Linked DNA regions of Homo sapiens: region 2 is linked to region 1. The links are contacts of gene promoters, found by promoter capture Hi-C in blood cells and fetal thymus (Javierre and others, 2016). All regions are on one chromosome and are shown on one strand. Each heading gives the region's core, a stretch centred on a gene start or on the middle of the fragment in contact. The rest is flanking DNA. Distances are from core to core; before and after follow the strand shown. Region 1 holds the start of SORT1 (sortilin 1). Region 2 overlaps SORT1 (sortilin 1).

Region 1 (4,521 bases), core at 1,556-4,055:
ATTAAACAAAGGCTCCACTTTTTTTTTTTTTAACCAGATACAGAAAGGATGAGATCTCTGAAGAAGAGACCACGGATGACTAACAAACGCAAAAACTTTTTTTTTTTTTTTTTTTTTTTTTTTTTTGAGATAGAGTCTCACTCTGTCACCCAGGCTGGAGTACAACGGTGCGATCTCGGCTCGCTGCAACCTCTGCCTCCTGGGTTCAAGTGATCGTCATGCCTCAGCCTCCAGAATAACTGGAATTACAGGCGCATGCCACCGCGTCTGGCTAACTTTTGTATTTTTAGTAGAGACAGGGTTTCACCATGTTGGCCAGGCTAGTCTTGAACTTCTGACCTCAAGTGATCCACCTGCCTTGGCCTCCCACATTGATAAGATTACAGGCATGAGCCACCGTGCCCAGCCAAAATAGCTATTTTAAATAAGGTCACTGAAAAAAAGACTGGGAGAGAAAAACTAAAAAAAAATTATTGCAAACAGCTAAATGAAAGAAATAGAAGAAAATTTCTTTACATGTGGACTTCAAAGAATGAGTGGTTTTAGGTCTACTCTTCCACAGATTTGGCCTTAGAACCCCTGAGCCAGTTTTTTCAACCTCTTTCTTTGGAATCAATATATTACAAATGACACATCAATTCAAACTAACCAGGAAGACTCTGACTCAAGGAATAAATCCAGGCAGGGCATAGTGGCTCACGCCTCTAATCTCAGCACTGTGGCAGGCTAAGGTGGGTGGAGCACTTGAGCCCAGGAGTTCAAGACCAGCCTGGGGAACATGGCAAAACCCTGTTTCTTAAAAAAAGAAAGAAAGAAAGAAAAGAACAATTAGCTGGGTGCATGTACCAGTAGTCCCGGCTACTTGGGAGGCTGAGGTGAGAGGATCACTTGAGCCCAGGAGGTCAGGGCTGCAGTGAGCTGTGATCACACCACTGCATTCCAGCCTGGGCAACAGAGTGAGACCCTATCTCAAAAAAAAAATAGTAATTACACAAAAATTAGCTAGGCATAGTGGTGCACACCTGTAGTCCCAGCTACTCAGGAGGCTGAGGTAAGACTCTATCTCACAAAAAAAGAGAAAAAGAAAAACAGGAGTAAATCTAAATCCAGGAGTAGCAGCAGACCTAAAGTTAGGTCAACCAGCGAGAGAAGAATTTGAAATATGGAGCAAGAATGCTGTGACCAGCTAGCTCAAGGAAGGAAGTGGTCCAGTATAAATTAAGCATTAGTGTTGTAAAGCCTTTCTCAATCCCCCACTGTGAGAAGGAAGTCTATTCGATTTTTTTTTCTCATCAAGTAGGAAGACTTCCCAGTACTCATTCTACCCAACCTGTCTCACCCTCCAGCACTAGCTTGGCTACCTTTACACAGCTGCTGCTCGGGATACACTAAGCACAATTATTCCTGAATATTTGTGTCTTGTGTCCTCAGATCAGAGAATTCTATTACAGGTAACAAGTATGGTCCAGATAACCAGGCAGTCCAAAGGGAGACTGAGGCTTGGCTGACGCTGAAAAACGGTTACAGAAGGACAAGTGCTGGCACAGAGCCTTGGCCACCCATCTCTGCCCCCAAGTGCAATTCATTTTCTTTGAAAGAGGAAAACAGGCAAGGGAGAAAATATATAGAATTGAAAATACATTATGCAAATGTGGCTAGCAAGGATTAAATTGTTAATTTTAGAGAAATAGGAGAAAGATGCCCAAGTTGTGCTGAAGCAAGGAACCAGGACTTTCTTAATAATTAGTTTTGTCAGTCCAGTAGTGTGCAAAGGTTGAGCTGCTTGTCCCCAGGGACAGAAATCCCATAATTTTGAAAGTCTTTTGACCAAGAGCTGGCTCAAAGCAGAATATGTGCAATGCGTTTCTTAACTATTGAAAATCTTGTCACCACGGGATATAGACATGCTAGTCAGACTTCCGTACCATGACAGAAGGTCAAATCTGAAGCAGTAAAAGAGATCACATAAATATTGCCATCTCATTTCCAAGCTAGTCCCCTTAACTATTAAAACACGGTGACCAGATCGCTGCTTCGGGCCTCCTGAACTCCCGCCTCTCCCACCCGGAAAGTACTGACCCAGAGAGGACACACCTTTGCTTCTGCGCAGCCCAACTTCTGCAAGCGCTCAAGAGTTAATTACTCCTTCACCTTCCTGGGGCCTAACAGCGTTACTGGGTCCTGATTATTTATACAGACGAAAAACGATGTTCAAGAGATTTTGACAACTTAAAAAAAAAAAAAAGAATGCGGTGGAAGTCTAAGATTGCCTCCCCTATGACAAAACACAGCCCCGCCGGCCGCCCGGGCCCGACTCCGCCCGCCCGCCCGCCGCAGTTTCGGGGCTGCGGCCCGGGGGACGCGGGCGCGGCAGGGCTGGGGTCTCCTCCGGGAGTCGCGGGGCGCACGGGCCGGGAGGGGCACGCGGGCGGCACCTCGCACCCGAGCGGCTCCCGGGCCCGGCGCCCGCTCACCTGGTGCGTGTTGTTGGCCAGCTTGGCGACGAAGTCCCGGACCCGGCCGCACTCCTCGTCCTCGCCCGGCGCGCTGCGACGCCAACGGCCGCCGCGGGGAAACGCGCCCCCGGCTGCGGCCGCCCGCAGCCCCCAGCTCACCCCGATGGGGCCAGACCAGCGCGGCAGCGGCGCAGCGGGCGGCGGCGGCGCGTCCAGCCGGTCCTGGCTGAGGGTCGACGGCGGCAGCAGCTGCAGGAGGAGGAGGAGGCCGAGGCCATGGGGCCAGCGCGAGAGGCCGTCCGCAGCTCCCCAGGGCCGCTCCATCGCCGCCGAATGCCGCCGACGCCGACACCTGCCGCCCGGCGCGCCCGCCCACCCCCGCCGGCGCGCGCCACACCCCCGAGCCGAGCGCGGCGCTCCTTGGATACGCGCGGCCGGGCCTCTCCGCCCCATAGGCTGGCCGCCTGTCCCTCTTCCCCGGCCCACTCCTCATTGGCTCGCGTCGCCTCCGGCTTCGGGGGTCCTGGATTCGGATGCTAAGATGCGGGACTGATTGGCTGGAACGGGGCAGAGACTGCTGAGGTCAACCCCGCCTCGCCCGGCGTCTCCCGGGCCCGGCTTGTGGAGTTCACGTAGGAGCTTCTCATACCTTCCCGCCGAGCCCCGGGCTCCTGGCGTCGCGACCCCTTGCCGCACCTCTAGCGCCCTCAAGTTGGGGCTGGGTTACGTCCCTCCTGTTCCCCAGAGACACTCCTAAAATTCCTTCGGTGAGGCAGAGCCTGGAAAAACCTACCCAGGAAATCCCTGAGCTTGCTCAGCTGGAAAAGGGGGCTCCATCATGAACCGGGGCTTCGGGTTTTTATAAACCCCGCTCACTGGAGCGCCCATTGTCTGCTAAGCAGCTGCCTTGCTGCAAGAAGGTGAATGCGAACTGATGTGGGCCACATCCTACGGAGACAGACATCAGGACATCCGTGACTCCTGCAAGCCTGAAGAATAGTCTTTCCATACGTTTGGCCTCTCTCACCTTCCTCTTCTGAGGGGAGGTAGGCCAAAGGCGGAATTACTTACAGGTTTTCCAGGACTTCGAATGTAGCTTAGGCATTAGGGGCAGGTAAAAGAGGGGCAAGAGAATGATCCAATGCCTACTGTACACATGATCATTTCCTAGATGCACATTTATTTTACCAAAGTGCCTTAACTCTGCAGTGAGAGCTTCGGACAAGTTTGGTTCCAGTATGTGATGTCCTCTAAATTAGCACCCCGATCCACCTCTAATGAATAAAATAAAACCCCTACGCTGTTCCCTTTACCGCAGAAGCTGCACACACAACTTCTACAACACGTAGCACAGGTAAAACCAGTTCTGAATCCTTAAGCTTACTGACTCCATCCCTTCAGAAAGCTAGAAATTGTTCAGTAGAAAAGGTAGCAAATAGAAAGATACAAAATATGCAAGTCATTACACTCAAAGCAAGTAAAGATTACTTTTAATTATAAACTGGCCATAAACCCAAATGAGGATATAGTCATTGTAGAGCAAAATGATACAATGCACCCAACCCGATATTTACATTAAAATATTTCCAGTCACATTAACTTTCAAACAAAAAGACTTAACGAATTTACAAATTTTTCCAAGACGTGAGAAGTGAAAAATGTTTTTGAATGCCATCTGAGCAGGATAGTAAAATCACTAGAATAGTCTTTTTAAGTTCTCAGTTACTGGACTGAAAAGATAAAGCTGATGAAAATTGGTGAACAATTTGTTCCTTTCCATAACTACTATCAGATTAATTTAAAAAAGATTATTTTTAAATCTATGCCAACTATGGGAGTAGATCACAAGACAGTCAGTTCCAGTAGCATGTGATTAGGTGGGGGGAGGAAAGGGGGTTATAAAGGAATATTTCTTTGTTTGGGTGACACAAAGATGAATGGTCTATTGTCTTACTGTCTGAAAAGAAAAAACAACTCAACAGTGCCACCTCCTGGAGAAATTACCAAATACACTTTTAAACGCTATTAAATTTGTTCCAATTATCTGTACCTTCACTTTTTAGTA
Region 2 (4,191 bases), core at 1,354-3,853, 67 kb before region 1:
ATTTTTACCATATTACTTTGTGTTGGCTACTCTAGGTAGCTCATATAAGTAGAATCACATAATATTTGTCATTTTGTGTCTGACTTATTTCACTTGGCATAATGTCCTCAAGGCTCATCCATGTTGTATTAATAGCATATGTCAGAATTTCCTCCCTTTTAAAGGCTAAATATTATTTAAGTGTGTGTGTGTATCTGTATCCACACACACCCCACACTTTATTTACTCATTTATCTGTCAATAGACACAAGTTGCTTCTACCTTTTGGCTATCATGAATAATGTTGCTATGTACATGGTTGTACAAATATCTTTTTGAGAACCTGCTTTCAACTCTTTTGGATGTATAATCCAGAAGTGGAATTGCTGGATATGATAATCCTATTTTTAATTTTTTTTAGGAACTACTATGCTGTTTTCTGTAGCAGCTGCACCATTTTACATTTTCACCAAAAGTGCACCAGGGCTCCAATTTCTCCATATCCTTGCCAACACTTTTTAAAATAGTAGCCACCCTAATCTGTGTGAGGAGATACCTCATTGTGGTTTTGACTTGCATTTTCCTAATGATTAGTGATGCTGAGCCTCTTTTTATATGCTTGTTAGTCACTTCTATATTGTGTTTGGAGAAATGTCTATACAAGTTCTTTGCCTATTTTTTATTCAGGCTATTTGTTTGTTGTTGAGTTGTAGCTCAGTGGCATACTCTTGATTCTGAAATGTACTACAATATCTGGAAGCAAATATTTCCTCATGGGTAACCTGTCTCCGTTTATTTTATTTTTGCATTACATCAAAGCCTCTGAACAATGTTTAAAGGCTGACTCTACACAAATAAACTTGATAAGCACCTGATATACTTCAGACACCGTACAAGATGTGATGGTGGTTCGAAATAAGATCCAGTCTTGTCTTTAAGAAACTTAAAGGCTCCAGGTCCACTCTCACAGACCCAGCCAAGTGGACCCCTGCATCAGGCCAGCCCCTGCAGGCTCAGGGTAGGGCCCACCCCTGCACCAGGCTGGCTCCTGCAGATCTACTTACCGGGCTCCAGGTGTTTCACCTGAAGACCCACTTAAAAGGTCCACCCTAGTGGATTCCACTGCCAGGCCTGCCGCAGAGGACCCAGCCTCCAAGCTACCCCCAAAGACCAAGGCACCAGGCCCACCTACCTGCAGAACCTGTCAGTTGCCCCCCCAAGAATCTCTGGATGAGCTACCTGGTAAGGGCTTCCCCTGCTGAAGCCATCTGTAAAGGCCTATGTGTGTAAGAGGACACATAGGCTAAAAGTAGAGATAAAAAAAAGATATTCCACTCAAATGGTAGCCAAAAGAGAGCAGGGGTGGCTATATTTATTTATTTATTTTTGAGACGGAGTGTCGCTCTGCCACCCAGGCTGGAGTGCGGTGGTGCCATCTCAGCTCACTGCAAGCTCTGCCTCCTGGGTTCATGCCATTCTCCTGCCTCAGCCTCCCAAGTAGCTGGGACTACAGGCGCCTGCCACCACACCCGGCTAATTTTTTGTATTTTTAGTAGAGACAGGGTTTCACCATGTTAGTGAGGACGGTCTTGATTTCCTGACCTCGTGATCCGCCCGCCTTGGTCTCCCAAAGAGCTGGGATTACAGGCGTGAGCCACCATGTCCAGCCGGGGGTGGCTATATTTATATCAGACAAAATAGACTTTAAGTAAAAAACTATCACAAGGGATAAAGAAAGTTACCACACAATGATAAAGGTGTCAATTCATCAAGAGCATATAACATTGGTAAATATAAATGCACTCAACATTAGAGCACCTAAATGTATAAAGCAAACATTAACAGAACTGAAGAAAGAGGTAGACGACAATACAATAATAGTAAGGGACTTCAATACTTACTTTCAATGATAGATCATCCAGACAGAAAACCAGTAAGGAAAGAGCAAACTTGAACAACACCATACAAATGGACCTAACAGACATATACAGAACATTCTATCCAATAGCAGCAGAATATACATTCTTTTCAAGTGCACAGAGAATATTCTCCAGGATAGTGCATATGTTAGGCCACAAAACAAGCCTTAACAAATGTAAGACTGAAATCACCTCAAGTATCCTTTCTTTTTTTTTTGAGACGGAGTCTCACTCTGTCACCTGGGCTGGAGTGCAGTGGCGTGATCTTGGCTCACTGCAAGCTCCGCCTCCCGGGTTCAAACAATTCTCTGCCTCAGCCTCCTGAGTAGCTGGGATTAAAGGCACCCGCTGCCACGCCCAGCTATTTTTTTTTTGTATTTTTAGTAGAGACCAAGTCGGCCAGGCTGGTCTTGAACTCCTGACCTCGTGATCCACCCACCTCAGCCTCCCAAAGTGCAAGGATTATAGGCGTGAGCCAGTGTGCCTGGCCTCAAGTTCTTTTCAACTACAACATTATGAAACTAGAATCAGTAAAGGGAGGAAAATTGGAAAATTCACATGAATGTGGAAATTGAACAACATATTCTTGAACAACCAATGAGTCAAAGGGAAATAAAAAAAACTTGAGACAAATGAAAAGGGAAACACAACATATTAAAACTTAAGGGATGCAGCAAAAGCAGTTCTAAGAAGAAAGTTTATGGTGATAAATGTCTACATTAAGAAAAAAGAAAAATCTCAAAAATCTTAACTTTATACCTCAAGGAACTAGAAAAAGAACAAACTAAGCCCAAAGTTAGCAGAAGGGAGGAAATAATAACAGAGCAGAAATAACTGAAATAGAAGTTAGAAAAATAACAGGAAAGATCAATGAAACTTAGAGTTGTTTTTTTTGACAAGATAAAAAAGTGACAAACTTTTAATTAGAATAAGAAAAAAAGAAAAGACTCAAGTAAAATCAGAAATGTAAGAGGAGACATTATAACTTATACTACAGAAAAAACAAAGGATCCTAAGAGACTACTATGAACAACTATACATCAACAAATTGGATAATCTAGAAAAAAATGGATGAATTTCTAGACATATACAGCTTACCAAGACTGTATCATGAAGAAGAAATAGAAAATCTGAACATACTAATATGAGTAAGGAGGCTCAATCAGTAATCAAAAACCTCCCAACAAGAAAAGCCTAGGACCTGATGGATTCAATGGTGAATTCTAGCAAACTTTCTTCAAAGAAGAATTAAGACCGATCCTTCTCAAACTCTTCCAAAAATTGAAGAGAATGGAACACTTCCAAACTCATTTTATAAGGGTGGTATTACCCTGCTACCAAAACCAGACAAGGACACTAGAAGAAAACAAAATTACAGGTCAATATCTCTGATGAACATAGATGCAAAAATTCTCAACAAAATACTAACAAACTGAATTCAACAGCATATTAAACAGATTATATACCATGATCAAGTAGGATCTATCTGTGGAATGCAAGGATGGTTCAACATATGCAAATCAATAAATGAGATATGCCACATTAATAGAATGAAGGATAGAAATCATATCATCTTGATAAATCCAGAAAAAGCACTTAACAAATTTCAACACCCATTCATGATAAAAACTCTCAATAAATTAGGTATAAAAGGGATATACCTCAACATAATAAACCCATTCATGATAAAAACTCTCAATAAATTAGGTATAAAAGGGATATACCTCAACATAATAAAGGCTATATGTGACAAGCCCACAGCTAACATCATACTCAAACAGTCAAAAGCTAAACCTTTTCCTCTAAGATCAGGAATAAGACAAAGATGCCCATTCTCACCACTTCTGTTCATTATAGTAATGGAAGTCCTAGCTGGAGCAATTAAGTAAGAAAAAGAAATAAAAACAAAAAGCATCCAAACCAGAAAGAAAGAGGTAAAATTGTCTGTCTGCAGGTGACATGAGCTTATATATAAAAATCCTTAATCTTTAAAGACTCCACCAAAAATGTTAAAACTAATAAATTCAAAAAAGTTGCAGAATATAAAATCAACATATAAAAATACAATATACACTAACAACAAACTATCCAAAAAAGAAATCAAGAAAATTTCATCTACAATAGTACAAGAAAAAAACTTAAAAAAAAAAAACAAAAAAAACTTAGGGATAAATTTAACCAAGGAGGTGAAAGACTAAAAACTACAAAACATTGATGAAAGAAATTGAAGATGACAAAAAAAAAAAAAAGGAAATATATCCTATGTTCCTGGATTGGAATAATTAATATTGTT

Evidence for each region. Contacts are between HindIII fragments. The CHiCAGO score rates a contact against its expected background, and 5 or more counts as called.
Region 2: a fragment that was not itself captured here is called in contact with the fragment with the promoter of SORT1 in region 1 in 2 of 17 cell types (M2 macrophages and megakaryocytes); the score reaches 9.7 in M2 macrophages.

The regions. Positions count from the first base shown.
Region 1 is chr1:109,395,113-109,399,633 of GRCh38, forward strand. SORT1 (sortilin 1) reads right to left here and starts at 2,806. Exons shown (of 20, transcript NM_002959.7): 1 at 2,475-2,806. The coding sequence starts at 2,780. It overlaps PSMA5 (proteasome 20S subunit alpha 5), which reads right to left. Exons shown (of 9, transcript NM_002790.4): 9 at 3,930-4,521. RefSeq lists silencers at 2,583-2,682, 2,693-2,762, 2,803-2,932 and an enhancer at 2,959-3,940. The HindIII fragment of the contact is 10,275 bases long and covers 1-3,833 here.
Region 2 is chr1:109,327,905-109,332,095 of GRCh38, forward strand. All of the region lies in intron 11 of SORT1 (sortilin 1), which reads right to left. Among named protein-coding and RNA genes, the nearest start is that of MYBPHL, 23 kb to the left of the region's middle. The HindIII fragment of the contact is 5,647 bases long and covers 1-4,191 here.